Regions from separate parts of the Homo sapiens genome. Here all the other regions are linked to region 1. The links are contacts of gene promoters, found by promoter capture Hi-C in blood cells and fetal thymus (Javierre and others, 2016). All regions are on one chromosome and are shown on one strand. Each heading gives the region's core, a stretch centred on a gene start or on the middle of the fragment in contact. The rest is flanking DNA. Distances are from core to core; before and after follow the strand shown. Region 1 holds the start of RFX2 (regulatory factor X2). Region 2 holds the start of CD70 (CD70 molecule). Region 3 holds the start of SAFB2 (scaffold attachment factor B2).

Region 1 (4,456 bases), core at 629-3,128:
CGCTGGTCATTTATGATACAAAGCAGGAAAATAATTGCAGGGAGGCACAATGCTAACAACACCCCAAAGTAGGAATGAAGCCTGGGGGGGCGGGGGTAAGGCAGCCAGCCCTGGGTCCCGAGCTCCATCTTGCCCTCTCCCCTCCCCATTCTTGCCGCACAACCAGGAGGTTAAAATAGGAAGATGAACCGCGCCGGCAGCCGCCAGAATGGCCCGGGCGCTTGGGGCCCTCGGGGGCCCTTGAAATAGCCACTAGGATCGGGAAATCCAACTTTCCCAGCGGTGCAGCGAGGAAAACCAAAAGGAACGGAGCCGGAGGCTGGTGGCGAGGGAGCGCGGAGGCTTCTCGGAGGGAGGAAAAAGAAAGAAATGAGCATTTGGGGTGTGAGTGAGTGTGTGTGTGTGAGTGTGTGTGTGCGCCCGCGAGCGCGCTGGTGGGCGGTGGGGGCAGGGGGTGGAGTTTAAATCCACAAACACACACACGCACTCGCACTACCTCGGAGAAAATGCCTGGAGCAGTTTAGGTTCTTTAACAAAATAAATAAATTGAAAAAAAAAAAAAGTTTCACTCGCGTTGGTGAAACTTTTCTCCCTTCCAGATCAGTCCTAAGAGGAGAGCTGCGGACGTGCGGAGGGGCATCTTGGGGGCACGTGGAAAGACTGGCGGACGCACGAACCCCTATACTCAGGAATATGGGGTCACAGGGAGAAGGGGAGGGGGTGTCCGAGGCGACCTGAACGCGAGGATTTGGGGCAAAAAGGTGAGAAACAGTTCCCGGGGAAGCTCGCTCGGGGAGTTTGGGATGAAAAGGTGAGAAGGGCAAGAGGGGTTCTCCCCAGGGCAGACGCACCAGCTTTTAGTTAAGGAATGAGAAAAAGGTTCCAGGGGTGCCCCCAAATTCAGTATGTCTGGGAGTCCATTAAAAAGGGGGTCCCCGGGACAAGTCAGATCTAGGAATTTGGGGTAAAAATGAGAAGGGAGTCTTCGAGGTCCCCCCGATGCAAGAAGTTTGCGACTAAGAGTGACAGAAGGGCTCTGGGGTCACCCCAATTTCGGAGGTTTGGGGAGTAAAGTAAGAAGAGGGCCCCAGGTGGCCCCAATTCAGGGAGTTTGAGGGTATGAGTAAAAGAGGGGTCCCCGGGTGTCCCCATCTCAGAGATCTGGGGAGTAAAAGTGAGGAGAGGGTCCCCAAGCGCCCCCAATTCAGAGAATTCGAGGGTTTGAGTAAAAGAAGGGTCCCTGGGTGCCCCCAACTCAGAGATCTGGGGAGTAAACGTGAGAAGAGGGTCCCCTGGCGCCCCCAATTCAGAAAATTCGAGGGTATGAGTAAAAGAGGGGTCCTTGGGTGCCCCCAACTCAGAGATCTAGGGGGTTAAGGTGAGAAGAGGGTCCCCAAGCGCCCCCAATTCAGGGAGTTTGAGGAGTTTGAGAGACGTTCCCGGGGCGCCCCCAACTCAGCGAGTTTGAAGGTAAGCGTGAGAAAGGGGTCCCCGGACGCCCCAACCTCAGGAAGTTTTGTAAAAAGTGAGGCGACGGCACCGCACCTCCCCCGCGTTCAGTCAATAAGGAAAGTGGGGACGTCGCCAGGGTCCCCCCAAACTCCGCCGCGCGCGCGGACGGGGTGGCGGAGGCGGGTCCCGCGGGCGCACCACCCGGACGTTTGGGGTGAGCGGCGGGGACGTGCTGCCCGCCCCCCGGCCCCCGAACGGGGTCCCCGCCGCCCCCCACACTCCCCGGCCGGGCTGGGCCCGGGGCGGTCGCATCGGTCACCTGGAGTTCGGGCCGGGAGTTCGGGCAGCGGCTCCCGCGGCGGCGGCAGCGGCTGCTGCGTGTTGGTCCCCGTTGGTAAGTAACAGTCTCCACGGCTACAGTCTCTATGGCGGCGGCGGTGGCGGCGGCGGCCGCTCCTCCTCCGGCTCCCGCCGCCAGCCAGCCTCGCGCAGCCCGCCCGCCCGACGGGGCGGGGCGTTGTTACCGGCAACGGTTACCAGGCTCCGCGCCCCACCTTCCTAACGGCCCGCCCACGCTCGCCTCCAACGGGCCCCCAAGAGGGCGGGGCGCGAGACCCTACGGCGTTCCATTGGCTGTCTGCAGAGTCTGTCGGAAGGAGGAGGCGTTCCCCCTTGAAAAAGAGTGCGAGACTCGGCCAATGGCCGCGAAGAGGGGCGGGTCTTGGCGGGAGGCGCGCGCGGCTCAGAGGGTTGGCGAACCGGTCGCGCGCGCGGCGCCGTGGGTTGGTGGCGCGTTTTGGGAAAGTCCAGTTTTAGGGGACCCAAGGGACTCCGTTTACCCCACAGGAGGAGTGTGGGACATGTGGGAACAGTCTGATCAGGGGTCAGCAAACTCTCGCTCGCCGCCTGTTTTTCACGGACCCCCAGCTGAAAATTTAAATATATATATATTTTTTACATGGTTAAAAGAAACTATCGGCCGGGCGCGGTGGCTCACGCCTGTAATCCCAGCACTTTGGGAGGCTAAGGCGGGTGGATCACGGAGTCAGGAGATCGAGACCATCCTGACTAACACGGTGAAACCCCGTCTCTACTAAAAATACAAAAAATTAGCCGGGCGTGGTGGCAGGCGCCTGTAGTCCCAGCTACTTGGGAGGCTGAGGCAGGAGAATGGTGCGAACCTGGGAGGCGGAGCTTGCAGTGAGCCGAGATCGCACCACTGCACTCCAGCCTGGGCGACAGAGCGAGACTCCGTCTCAAAAAAAAAAAAAAGAAAGAAAGAAAAAAAAAGAAACTATCAAAAGGAGCTTTTGTGGGGTGTGAACCTGATAGGAGACTCTCTTTTATTGTATTGGGCCCAGTATTTTGAACTAGTTTAAAGATTGGCAAACTGCGGCCTGCGGGTCAAATTCTGCCTGCTTGGGTTTGTAAATAAAGCTTTATTGGAACATAGCCACGCCCATTTCCTTGAACAGCTTGGAAGGCTGCTTTGACACTACAGGGGCGGAGTGGAGTAGTTGCGCAAAGACGGCATGTCCCACGCGAAGCCTAAGATATTTACTATACGGTCCTTTACAGAAAATGTTTGCCAAACTCACCAGCCCTCCTCTCAAGCTGGTAGATTCAGCTACGAGTAGGACAGAAACAGACAGATCCTCATAGAACTTTTATTCTAGTGAGGGAACATTGACAGCAAACAGAATAAAGAGGTAAACATATAGTTATTCGAGACAAGGGGCTGGAAGAATAGGAGAAAACAACTTGTACTGAGAAAAGGCAGGAGATTAGGCTTCAGCCCCACTCATTCATTCAACAAGAAATCATATTAGTGAGCACTGATTAAATTGCTATGTGCCTGAAAGTGATCTAAGCATTTTTTAAATATGCAAACTCATTAAATCTTACAATCGCATCTTTAGAAAGATGCTAGGCATTATCCCCGTTTTTATTTGTTTTGTTTTTTCTTTTTTTTTTTTTGAGACAGAGTCTCTCTCTGTCACCCAGACTGGAGTGCAGTGGTGCGATCTGGCTCGCTCACTGCAACCTCTGTCTCCCGGGTTCAAGTGATTCTCCTGCCTCAGCCTCTCAAGTAGCTGGGACTACAGGCGCCCGCCACCACGCTCAGCTAATTTTTGTATTTTTAGTAGAGACGGGGTTTCACCATGTTGGCCAGGCTGGCCTGGAACTCCTGACCTCAAGTGATCCGCCCGCCTTGGACTCTCAAAGTGCTAGGATTACAGGCATGAGCCACCATGCCCGGCCTTTCCCCATTTTTCAGATCAGGAAGCTGAGGCCCAGAAAGAATGAGTGAATTTGCCCAGTGTCAAACAGCTTGTGAGGGATCGGAACCCTAGTAGTCTAGTGCCAAAGTCCATGCTCTTGATCACTAGATGGGTGGTTTTCAAACATTTTTGACCACAGCATACAGCAGGAAATACATTTTACCTAGGGGCTCAGTCCACACAAACATATCTATAACTAAAACAAATGATACTGTAACTAAAGTACCGTGAAATGATACTTTAACGCACTCTGATATTTCCTGTTCTGTTTCATTTTAATTAAAATGTTGACGGTGATTTGCTAAATTGATTTCATCATCTTCTAATTTTTTTTTTTTTCTTGAGACAGAGTCTCTGTCGCCCAGGCTGGAGTGCAGTGGCATGATCTCGGCTCACTGCAACCTCCGCCTCCCGAGTTCAAGTGATTCTCCTGTTTCAGTCTCCCGAGTAGCTGGCGTTACAGGCACGCGCCACCACGCCTGGCTAATTTTTGTATTTTTAGTAGAGACGGGGTTTCACCGTGTTGGCCAGGCTGGTCTCAAACTCCTGATCTCAAGTGATCCACCCGCCTCAGCCTCCCAAAGTCCTGGGATTACAGGCAGGAGCCACTGCGCCTGGCCATGTGACAGATTCTTAAGCTCAAGTGGTCTACAGTAATCAGTCCCTTTCATTCAATTATTAATTTAGTCAAAAATATTTATTGAGGTCCAAGTGCAGTGACT
Region 2 (4,456 bases), core at 1,001-3,500, 480 kb after region 1:
GGAACAGTGCCTGCCCACTGCAGATGTATAATTAGTGCTTGTAGCATGAATGGAGGAAGGGTAGCCTTTCCTGTGAGCGTTTTCGTTTACTAACAAAACCCCTTTGATTCTTCCAAGGGAGGAGATCGAATGTGAAGGACTGAGAGGGAAAGGGAGAGAAAGGTAGTGGATGCCCAGAAACACAAACCTGCTCGCTCTCTCTCTCCTCTCTCTCTCTCTCGTTCTCTCCCTTTTCCTTTTTCTCTTGGGAATGATCTCTTTCTCCCCCGCCCTGTTTTTCTTCTTCCCCCTCTCTGTCTCTGTCTCTTCCTCTCTGTTATTCTCCTTCTCTTTTCCTCTCTCTGGCTTTCTTTCTTTTCTTTCTCTTATTTCTTTTTTTCTCTTTCTTCTTTCTTTTTCCTTTCTCTCTCTCTCACCTCCCTCCCTCTCTCCTTCCTTCCTTCTTCTCTTTCTTTTCCTTCCTTCCTTTCTTTCTTTTTCTTTTCCTTTCTTCTTTTTATTTATTTATTTGACAGAATCTCCCTCTGTCACCCAGGCTGGAGAGCAGTGCCATTATCTTGGCTCACTGCAACTTCTGCCTCCCAGGTTCAGGCGATTCTCCTGCCTCGGCCTCCTGAGTAGCTGGGATTACAGGTGCCTGCCACCACACCCGGCTAATTTTTGTAATTTTAGTAGAGACGGGGTTTCACCATGTTGGCCAGGCTGGTCTCAAACTCCTGGGCTCAAGTGATCCACCCGCCGCGCCCTCCGAAAGCGCTGGGATTACAGGCTCCAGCAACCACGCCAGGTCGCCTCTCTCGTTTTTATTCTCTCTTCCTCTATCTGTCTTTTTTCTCTTTCTCCGTCTCTCTCCCTCTCTCTCGTTCTGTCTCCCCCGCCTGTCTCCCTCCCTCCCTCTTCCACTCTCCCTGCGTCTCTCCCTGTTTCTTTCTTTCCCCTTCTTCTCCTGTCCCGTCTGTCCCCTCTGTCCCTCTCTCTGTTCTTTTTTCTGTCTCTCCCTCCCTTTCTCTGGGCCTCTCCCTCCCTCTCTGTCTTCTCTCTGTCTCCCCCTCTCCGTTTCCCTCCCTATCTCTCCCTCCCTCTCTCCCTCCGTCTCTGTCTGTGTCTCTTTCTCTCTGTCTCTCCCCACTTGTCTTTCTACCTCTCCTTCCTTCTCTCTCTGTGCCTCTTCTTCTCCCCGTCCCTCCACGTCCCCCGTGTTACCTGTGTGATTCAGCTGCAGCTCAGCTACGTCCCACTGGAAGAAAAGACCAGAAAACAGGGCACGGACGTAAGCAGAGAGGTTCTATGTGTCCCCTGTGCCAGGAGCTCTCTTTTCTCTGTCCATCCTCCTTTCCACCTCTCATCCCACGGCGCGCACTGGTGATTTTATTTCATTTTATTTTTTTTTACTCTTAAGACTTCTTAAAGAGGAAGCAGGTCTGAACCAGCGGGGAACGTGAAGTCGAGACCTTCAAAAGAACTTCTTCGTTTCCCGAATCGTTTTCCTGGATGTCACTGGGCGCGAGAGCACCGCGCGCAGCGGACTCTCTACGCTGCAAAGGCGCCCGGCGCGGTCCCCAAAGGGACCCCTCCCCCACCCGGAGCGAGTGGCTGGGGCCATCCCGTCCTAGGAGGCCCCAGGAAGCCCCCACGCCCAGCCTTGTGAAGCCCCCAGCAGCCTCTGAGTCAGCCTGCCGGGGGAACACCAGAGCCGAGTCATCTTCCATTTCCATGTGTGCCTACCTTTCCCATCCCGGGATCTCCCTGTACCTCCTGGCAGGGCTGCCTGTCTCGTAGCCCCTACACCGGGCAGCCTGGTCCCCGCCTCGCCTCCCTGTTCTGGTCTCTGTCTCTGCCCTACCAGATCTTCCTCTCTGGCCTCTTTGTACCCATCTCATTCTGTCTTTTCGGTCACGCGCCTCTCTATGTTTTCTTCCCAACTTTTCCATCTCAACTCACCCCAAGTGACTCGAGCGGCAGCTGCTGCTGAGCCTGTGCGAAGCGCTGGATGCACACCACGAGGCAGATCACCAAGCCCGCGACCAATGGGACCAAAGCAGCCCGCAGGACGCACCCATAGGGCCTGCGCCGCACCGAGCAGCCCGAACCCTCCTCCGGCATCGCCGCGGCGATCACCTCCGCTAGCGCAGGAGGGGCGATGGGGGCGCGGAGCGCTGCCGAGAAGGAAGGAAGGAAACTGCAGCCCCCTCCCGGGGCTCCTGGGCGTCTACTTGCTTCAACCTGTCAGGGGACCAGCCTGCCCCTCTCTGGGGATGTCCGGCCGGTCGAGGGGAGGGACTTGAGCAATTGGCGAGGGGAAATTCCCTCCAACCGCTGCCAGTCTGAAGATCCTAAAGTGGGTGGAGGCAGTTGCCAGGATGCAGGCAGTGGCCCCGGGTGAGCCTCAGAGTTGCCTGCCCCCAACCCCTCCCCGCCCGACCTTCAGGCAGGAGACATTCAATCTTCCTATTCCCCTCTCCACCTCATTCTTCTGGGGCCCATTCATTTATTCAACAAACCTCCACTGCACATTTATTAGGGATTAGATTGTGCTGTGCACTGGGGATACAGCAGACATCCAAGAATTGGGGGTGCTCCCCAAATATTCGTGTACCCCTCTCCTGCATTTTTTTGATTTGTTTTGTTTTTGAGACGGAGGTCTCCCTCTGTCACCCAGGCTGGAGTGCAGTGGCGCCATCTCAGCTCGCCGCAACCTCGATCTCCTGGGTTCAAGCGATTCTCCTGTCTGAGCCTCGCGAGTAGCTGGGAGTAACATGCGCGCGCCACCATGCCTGGCTAATTTTTTGTATTTTTAGTAGAGATGGGGTTTCACCATGTTGGCCAGGCTGGACTTGAACTCCTGACCTTGGGTGATCCACCCGCCTTGGCCTTCCAAAGTGCTGGGATTAAAGGCATGAGACACTGCACCCGGTCAGTTATCTCCTGCATTCTTGGAGACCACCTGCTTTTTTGTTTAAAGTTAAATTAAGTTAATATTTTTATTTTTTATTTTTATTTTATTTTATTATTTATTTTTTTTTTTTTTGAGACAGAGTCTCGCTCTGTCGCCCAGGCTGGAGTGCAGTGGCGCCATCTCGGCTCACTGCAAGCTCCGCCTCCCGGGTTCACGCCATTCTCCTGCCTCAGCCTCTCAAGTAGCTGGGACTACAGGCGCCCGCCACCACGCCCGGCTAACTTTTTGTATTTTTAGTAGAGATGGGTTTTCACCATGTTAGCGAGGATGGTCTCCATCTCCTGACCTCGTGATCTGCCCGCCTTGGCCTCCCAAAGTGCTGGGATTACAGGCGTGAGCCGCCGCGCCCGGCCTAAATTAATATTTTTAGAGACAGAGTGTTGCTCTGTTGCCCAGGCTGGATGCAGTGGCGCCACACAGCTCACAGCAGCCTCAAACTCCTGGGCTTCAGTGACCCTCCCATCTCAGCCTTTTGCATAGTTGGGTCTACCAGCACACGCTACCATGCCCGGCTAATTTTTTTTTTGGGGGGGGTAGAGGATAGGGTGTTACTATGTTACCAGGCTGGTCTCAAACATCTGGGCTCAAGCGATCCTGCTGCGTAGGTCCCCCAAAGTGCCGGGATGACAGGTGTGAGCCACCGCATCCAGCCTCCTGCTGCTGTTCTCGATGGCTGTAGTGGGTTAACGGTGTCCTCCCAGAATTCATGGCCTCCTGGAACTGCAGAATATGACCTCATTTTGAAATTACGGGGTTTTTTTTGCAGATATAATTAGGCTTAAATGAGGTCATACTGGATTAGAGTGGGCCCTCAGGTGGAGAGAAAAGAGGCTCATAGAGAAGGAGCCGTGTGAAAACAGAAACAGAAACTGAATGAGGCAGATGAAAGTCAAGAAACACCAAGAAGGAGCCAGGCGCAGTGGCTCACGCCTGTAATCCCAGCACTTTGGGAGGCTGAGGCAGGCGGATCACTTGATATCAGGAGTTTGAGACCCTCCTGGCTAACACGGTGAAACCCCCGTCTCTACTAAAAATACAAAAAATTAGCCGGGCATGGTGGCGGGCGCCTGTAGTCCCAGCTACTCAGGAGGCTGAGGCAGGAGAATGGCGTGAACCCGGGAGGTGGAGCTTGCAGTGAGCCGAGATCACGCCACTGAACTCCAGCCTGGGTGACAGAGTGAGACTCCGTCTCAAAAAAAAAAAAAAAAGAGTTGGAGACCAGCCTGGCCAACATGGTGGAACCCCATCTCTACTAAAAATTCAAAAAATAGCTGGGTGTGGTGGTGGGCACCTTTAATCCCAGCTACTCAGGAAGCTGAGGCAGGAGAATCGCTCAAACCCGGGAGGCAGAGGTTGCAGTGAGCCGAGATCACACCATTGCACTCCAGCCTGGGTGACAGAGCGAGACTCTGTCTTAAAAATATATATATTTTTTAAAAAGAGGATCCAGCCTCTTTTTCCGGCTGGAACCATGGAGGGTGTAGAAGAGAAGAAGAAGGA
Region 3 (4,456 bases), core at 753-3,252, 490 kb before region 1:
ACTAGGAAGCACTGAATTGTACACCTTAACCTGATGAATTTAACGGTCTGTGAATTAAACCTTCACATTCAAAAACCGTAATAGTAAAAAATAGGCTGAGTGCAAATACCCCAACAATCTACTTTGGACCCTAGCAAAGCTGAGTTCTATTCGGTCTCAGGTTGGTGTCCTTTTCTTTGGGTTAAGACCTATTTTTTGAACCAGGAAGGAAGCCAAGTAGGTACATTTGGTTCCTCAGACCCGTAGAAGTAGCTTTAAGAGCTTGTCTTTCTCTAGTTGACTTTTAATCCCAATGGCAGAAGCTGAAACGTTTTTCGTATATTTTAATTGCACTTGGCACCTGTACATCTCTTTCCTCCTCCCTGTGCCCTTGACAGAGCTACCTGTTAGGTGGTGACGAGCAAAGCTAACTCTTAGTGGAGGGACACCGAGTACCAGAGAAATTCTCCCAGCCTAGAAGGCGGGAAGAGCACACTACACACCATTTCTCTAAATTCTCTGAACACTCAAGCCCCAAGCAGCATATGTACAATACCTTTAACACATCTCTTGGCTGACTTCTTGCTGGTGGCTTCTAACTCGATGCCAATTTCATCAGGATCTTGCCCCTCTTCTTTAACCGCCTATTAGGGAGAGATGAGTTTTACAACATCATTAAGAGCTGCAGGGCACACACTGTTCCTTACAAGTAACAACCTCCCATGAAACAAAGGCAAACCCGTCCTTGCAAAGAGCAACTCCGGGTCAGCTATCTGGGCCGCAAGCCCAAAAGGCGGAGGAGGAACCCCGCACAACTTGGGTCTCTCTGGGTCCAAATGACAAAGGAGAGGGAGGCTGTGAGCAGGAGCTCCAGAATTGGGGTCAAGGACCAGTTCCAAAATGGCAACTCAACTCGACAATGCCAAACCTTCGACTTTAAAGTTATATGATGGGACAAATTAGAACAGAGAGGCTGCACTTGGCCCGGCCTCGGTGAAGGGCTGGCCACCGCTGGTGAGGAGGAACAGCAGCCAGCCTGGGGAGATTCAACAGGTCCCTCAGTGCCTGCCACCTGCCGGGTCCAGGACTGGGTACCCACAAGCTCCCTCCCTATGCTCAAGTTGTTTGTTCCAGTTGCGGAAACAGACAATTCCCAACCCCTTAATATTTTGCATTTAGCCCCTGCTTTCAGCGAGGTGCGACACAAACGCAGGATGAGCTGGCAAGGAGGTGGGGCAGCGCATTAGGAAGGGCGCTCAGGAAGGTGATGTCTCAGGCAGACCCAAAATGACAACAAGGGGCCGGCCACGAGAAGATCTGGGGGACCCGGGTGGACAGCTTCGTAAAGGCCAAAGCCCTGGGGCAAGAACAAGCACCGCCCCCTTTCCTGTAAATGCTCTGGAGTCCGCCAGACACCCATTCTCCGGAGGAGGAAACTGAGGCACAGAGAGAAAGGCACCTGCCCAAGGTCACAGAGCCAAGGCTCGATCGGGAGCCCCAGGAGGGGTCCCGGGGCCACCCTGGTAGCGGAGAAGACCGCACGCTGAGCGCGCTTGAGGAGAAAAGGTGGAAAGAGGATAGGAAGGGAGGCACAGAGAGGAGCGGTGACGGGCCAAGGTCACACAGCCGGCCCCCTGGGTGCCCGACACCTCGAACCGGGGTCGGCCAAGACGCGGGGCGAACCCAGGGCGCCCCGGGTCCGGGAGCCGCGGTGACAGGTGCAGGCGGGGGCGTGCCCGGGCCTCCTGCGCCACCCCCGAGCCCCGCGCCGCCTCACCTTCTTGAGCCGCTCCATCAGGACGCTCTTGTTGCCGCCCGTGTCCAGGTTCCGCTTCTTCAGCTCCGCCCGCAGATCGATCACCCGCAGCTCGCTGAGCCGCCTCGTCCCAGTCTCCGCAACGCCCGGGCCGAGAGAAGCCGTGCCAGGGCCCGAGTCGCCCGACCCGGGCAGAGTCTCCGCCATCGTCGCGTTCCCGTCTTCGCCACCGACTCAGTCGCACACCGCCGGCAGCTATAGCGGCTCTGAACACAAAATGGCGCCGCCTAAGAGGAAAACGCACTCGTTTCCTCCCGCCCCGCTTTGCGGCCGCGCACGCGCACGCGCACCGCCCCCACTAGCGTACTTAGCAGCAAGGACGCTCGCGCGTCCACCAACCGCGGGTTCCCCGGCACAACGCGCAAGCGCTGAATCTGCAGCTCGCATGCGTCCCGGCAGTTCCCGGCGGGAGGCTGACGAGACGCAACGCGTCTGCGCACATCCCCGCGTTGTTCTCACTGCGCATGTGCAGTTGCAACCGGGATACTAGAACCTACGCTTGGTGCGCCTGCGCAGAAGCGAGGCGCGCTGGGGCGACTGGAGCGGTTCCCTCGCAGGCGGCGCCATTTTGTGCTAGGAGCCTGATAAAACCGGCCCGGTTCTGTGGAAAGTGGGCGGCGGAGCCAGGGTCCCTGGAATGGCGGAGACTCTGTCAGGCCTAGGTGATTCTGGAGCGGCGGGCGCGGCGGCTCTGAGCTCCGCCTCGTCAGAGACCGGGACGCGGCGCCTCAGCGACCTGCGAGTGATCGATCTGCGGGCGGAGCTGAGGAAACGGAATGTGGACTCGAGCGGCAACAAGAGCGTTTTGATGGAGCGGCTGAAGAAGGTGGATTTGGGGCCCCGAGGGCGGGCACAGGGTGGGTCTGGGGTCCTCTTGGCCGCGACGGTGGCTCGCGGGCCCTGGCGTCCGCCCCCGGCCGCGTTCGCGGCCTCGCCGGACCTGGCGCTCTCGCGTCCCCCGGCTCCTCCGAGGCCCCGGAGAGAGTTCCTTGGCCGGCTGGGCCTGGGTTCAAATCCTAACGCCGCAATGGGGCCAGGAGAACCACAAAAACGGCACGCGTGCAGGAGAAACGGTGACGGGTGACATCGTCCACTGAGAGGAGGGTTCTCCCCTCGTCTCGTCCCCTCCTCCGTACCTGGAGGGGAGACCCTGAAACCCTCACTTCCCAGGCGAGGGGAAGGGACTCGGCCAAGGTCACACGGCCGAGGACGGGCAGCGTCGGGATTTGAACCCAGGCCCTGGGATTCCTGATTCGGCTGCTTGGTTTCCCCAGGGAAGATGCTTTGTGACCCACAGGGGACCGACCAGCCTGAATCGGGGCTGATTTACAAAGGAAACACCCGTAGGACATACTCAAAGGGAAAAATAGAAAAAAACCCACCACAATCCAGTTTTCACGGTTTGCCGGTACTCGCTCGGTGAAGTAACGTGGCAGGAAGGAAAAGTGGTGTTGACGGTAGTGATCAGAAATGTGAAATGAGGGGAGACCCCGGGTGGACTTTAAAACCAGCCTCAGAACTGCCCGGGAGGCGGGCAGAGCCTGGGCTCCCCCAGCTCCGTCAGTCTCTCTGGACTTGGGGACCCTGCCAGCTCTCGGTGGCCTGATCTTGGGCATAGGAGACCTTGAACCCCTTCTGAGTCCTCTTTTCTATTCTTTTTTTTTTTTTTTCTCCTGTAAGAAGCAAAAAAGCAATAGGACTTTGATTTGGGGATTAAATAAGTTTGCGTGGAGCAGGCTTGGCGTGCTGCCTGGCGCATGTAAACACTCGGTGTGTGGTTGCCATCACGATTCGCTTTTCCTCTCTGTGCCACCACGAGTCCTCATTTGCAGATCGGGGGCTCTAACGCCTCCCTTGGGGGATTCAAAGGGATCCCTAGGAAAAGCAGAGAGGCAAGTAAAGGTTAGCCACCTGCGGTTTCCTTATTCCTGTAGCTTTTTTTCTCTGCCTTTTTTCCACCTGGCTACTCTGGGACCTCTCCCCTGTAGTTGCTCCGCCTGGCCGCCCACCCCCCAGCCCCTGCAGGCAGTGGGGCTGTTGACACATCCCACCATCCTGACTCCGGAACTACGGAGATCACAGGGCTTTATTATTAATTGGTGATGAGAAGAAGTAGGGATTTTTTTTTTTTTTTTTTTCCTGATGAGAAACCCTGGGCTCAAGGGTGGATAGTTGTCTCGGCCAGAGTCACATGGGCCTTTTAAAAGCTCAAGCTTGTGTTTCTTTTCACTATGGATTCTCTTTACTCAGATAAGGCAGGAAGCCCACTGATCTACATATTTACCCAGAGAAAATGCAGAGAGTGGAGATTGGCGGCTGGTCAGGTGTGGTGCCCCGCCACCAGGGCCTCCCATCAGCTAAGCCAAATTAAGAGGCTTTATCCTTTTTTTCTCCCTGGACGGTCCATAGGCCTGAAAAGCTGCTGTGATCTTCCTGTCAAGCTGGTGACTGAGACTTCCCATCACTCGCTGTCATCTCTGAGAGCACAGATTTGTTCCTTCTTCCTTCTCCTTTTCATTTTCTTCAAGATGTGGTCCCAAAACACGAATACCGCCAGCCCATATCCCTGTCTGCCACTCACCCAAGCCAGTCTGGAGTTCCTGATCTCATTCTCTTCCCGTTTCTGTCATCCTGTTGGTGTCCCTTTCTTGGTTTATTTTT

What was found. Contacts are between HindIII fragments. The CHiCAGO score rates a contact against its expected background, and 5 or more counts as called.
Region 2: a contact is called between the fragment with the promoter of CD70 here and the fragment with the promoter of RFX2 in region 1, in 2 of 17 cell types (erythroblasts and total B cells). The highest score is 6.4, in erythroblasts.
Region 3: the fragment with the promoter of SAFB2 here is called in contact with the fragment with the promoter of RFX2 in region 1 in 6 of 17 cell types (activated CD4 T cells, total CD8 T cells, non-activated CD4 T cells and 3 more); the score reaches 8.0 in activated CD4 T cells.

What each region holds. Positions count from the first base shown.
Region 1 is chr19:6,108,622-6,113,077 of GRCh38, forward strand. RFX2 (regulatory factor X2) reads right to left here and starts at 1,879. Exons shown (of 18, transcript NM_000635.4): 1 at 1,772-1,879. RefSeq lists an enhancer at 393-893 and a silencer at 1,741-2,200. The HindIII fragment of the contact is 2,952 bases long and covers 1-2,887 here.
Region 2 is chr19:6,588,900-6,593,355 of GRCh38, forward strand. CD70 (CD70 molecule) reads right to left here and starts at 2,251. Exons shown (of 3, transcript NM_001252.5): 1 at 1,942-2,251; 2 at 1,204-1,237. The coding sequence starts at 2,103. It also overlaps the pseudogene RPL7P50. RefSeq lists enhancers at 1,151-1,520, 2,021-2,420, 3,491-3,950, 3,971-4,070. The HindIII fragment of the contact is 5,862 bases long and covers 1-4,456 here.
Region 3 is chr19:5,620,774-5,625,229 of GRCh38, forward strand. It overlaps SAFB2 (scaffold attachment factor B2), which reads right to left and starts at 2,003. Exons shown (of 21, transcript NM_014649.3): 1 at 1,757-2,003; 2 at 536-623. The coding sequence starts at 1,942. SAFB (scaffold attachment factor B) reads left to right here and starts at 2,310. Exons shown (of 21, transcript NM_001201338.2): 1 at 2,310-2,621. The coding sequence starts at 2,433. RefSeq lists silencers at 403-623, 1,628-1,747, 2,718-2,767 and enhancers at 542-1,274, 1,748-2,087, 2,008-2,740, 2,741-3,472. The HindIII fragment of the contact is 4,337 bases long and covers 1-4,006 here.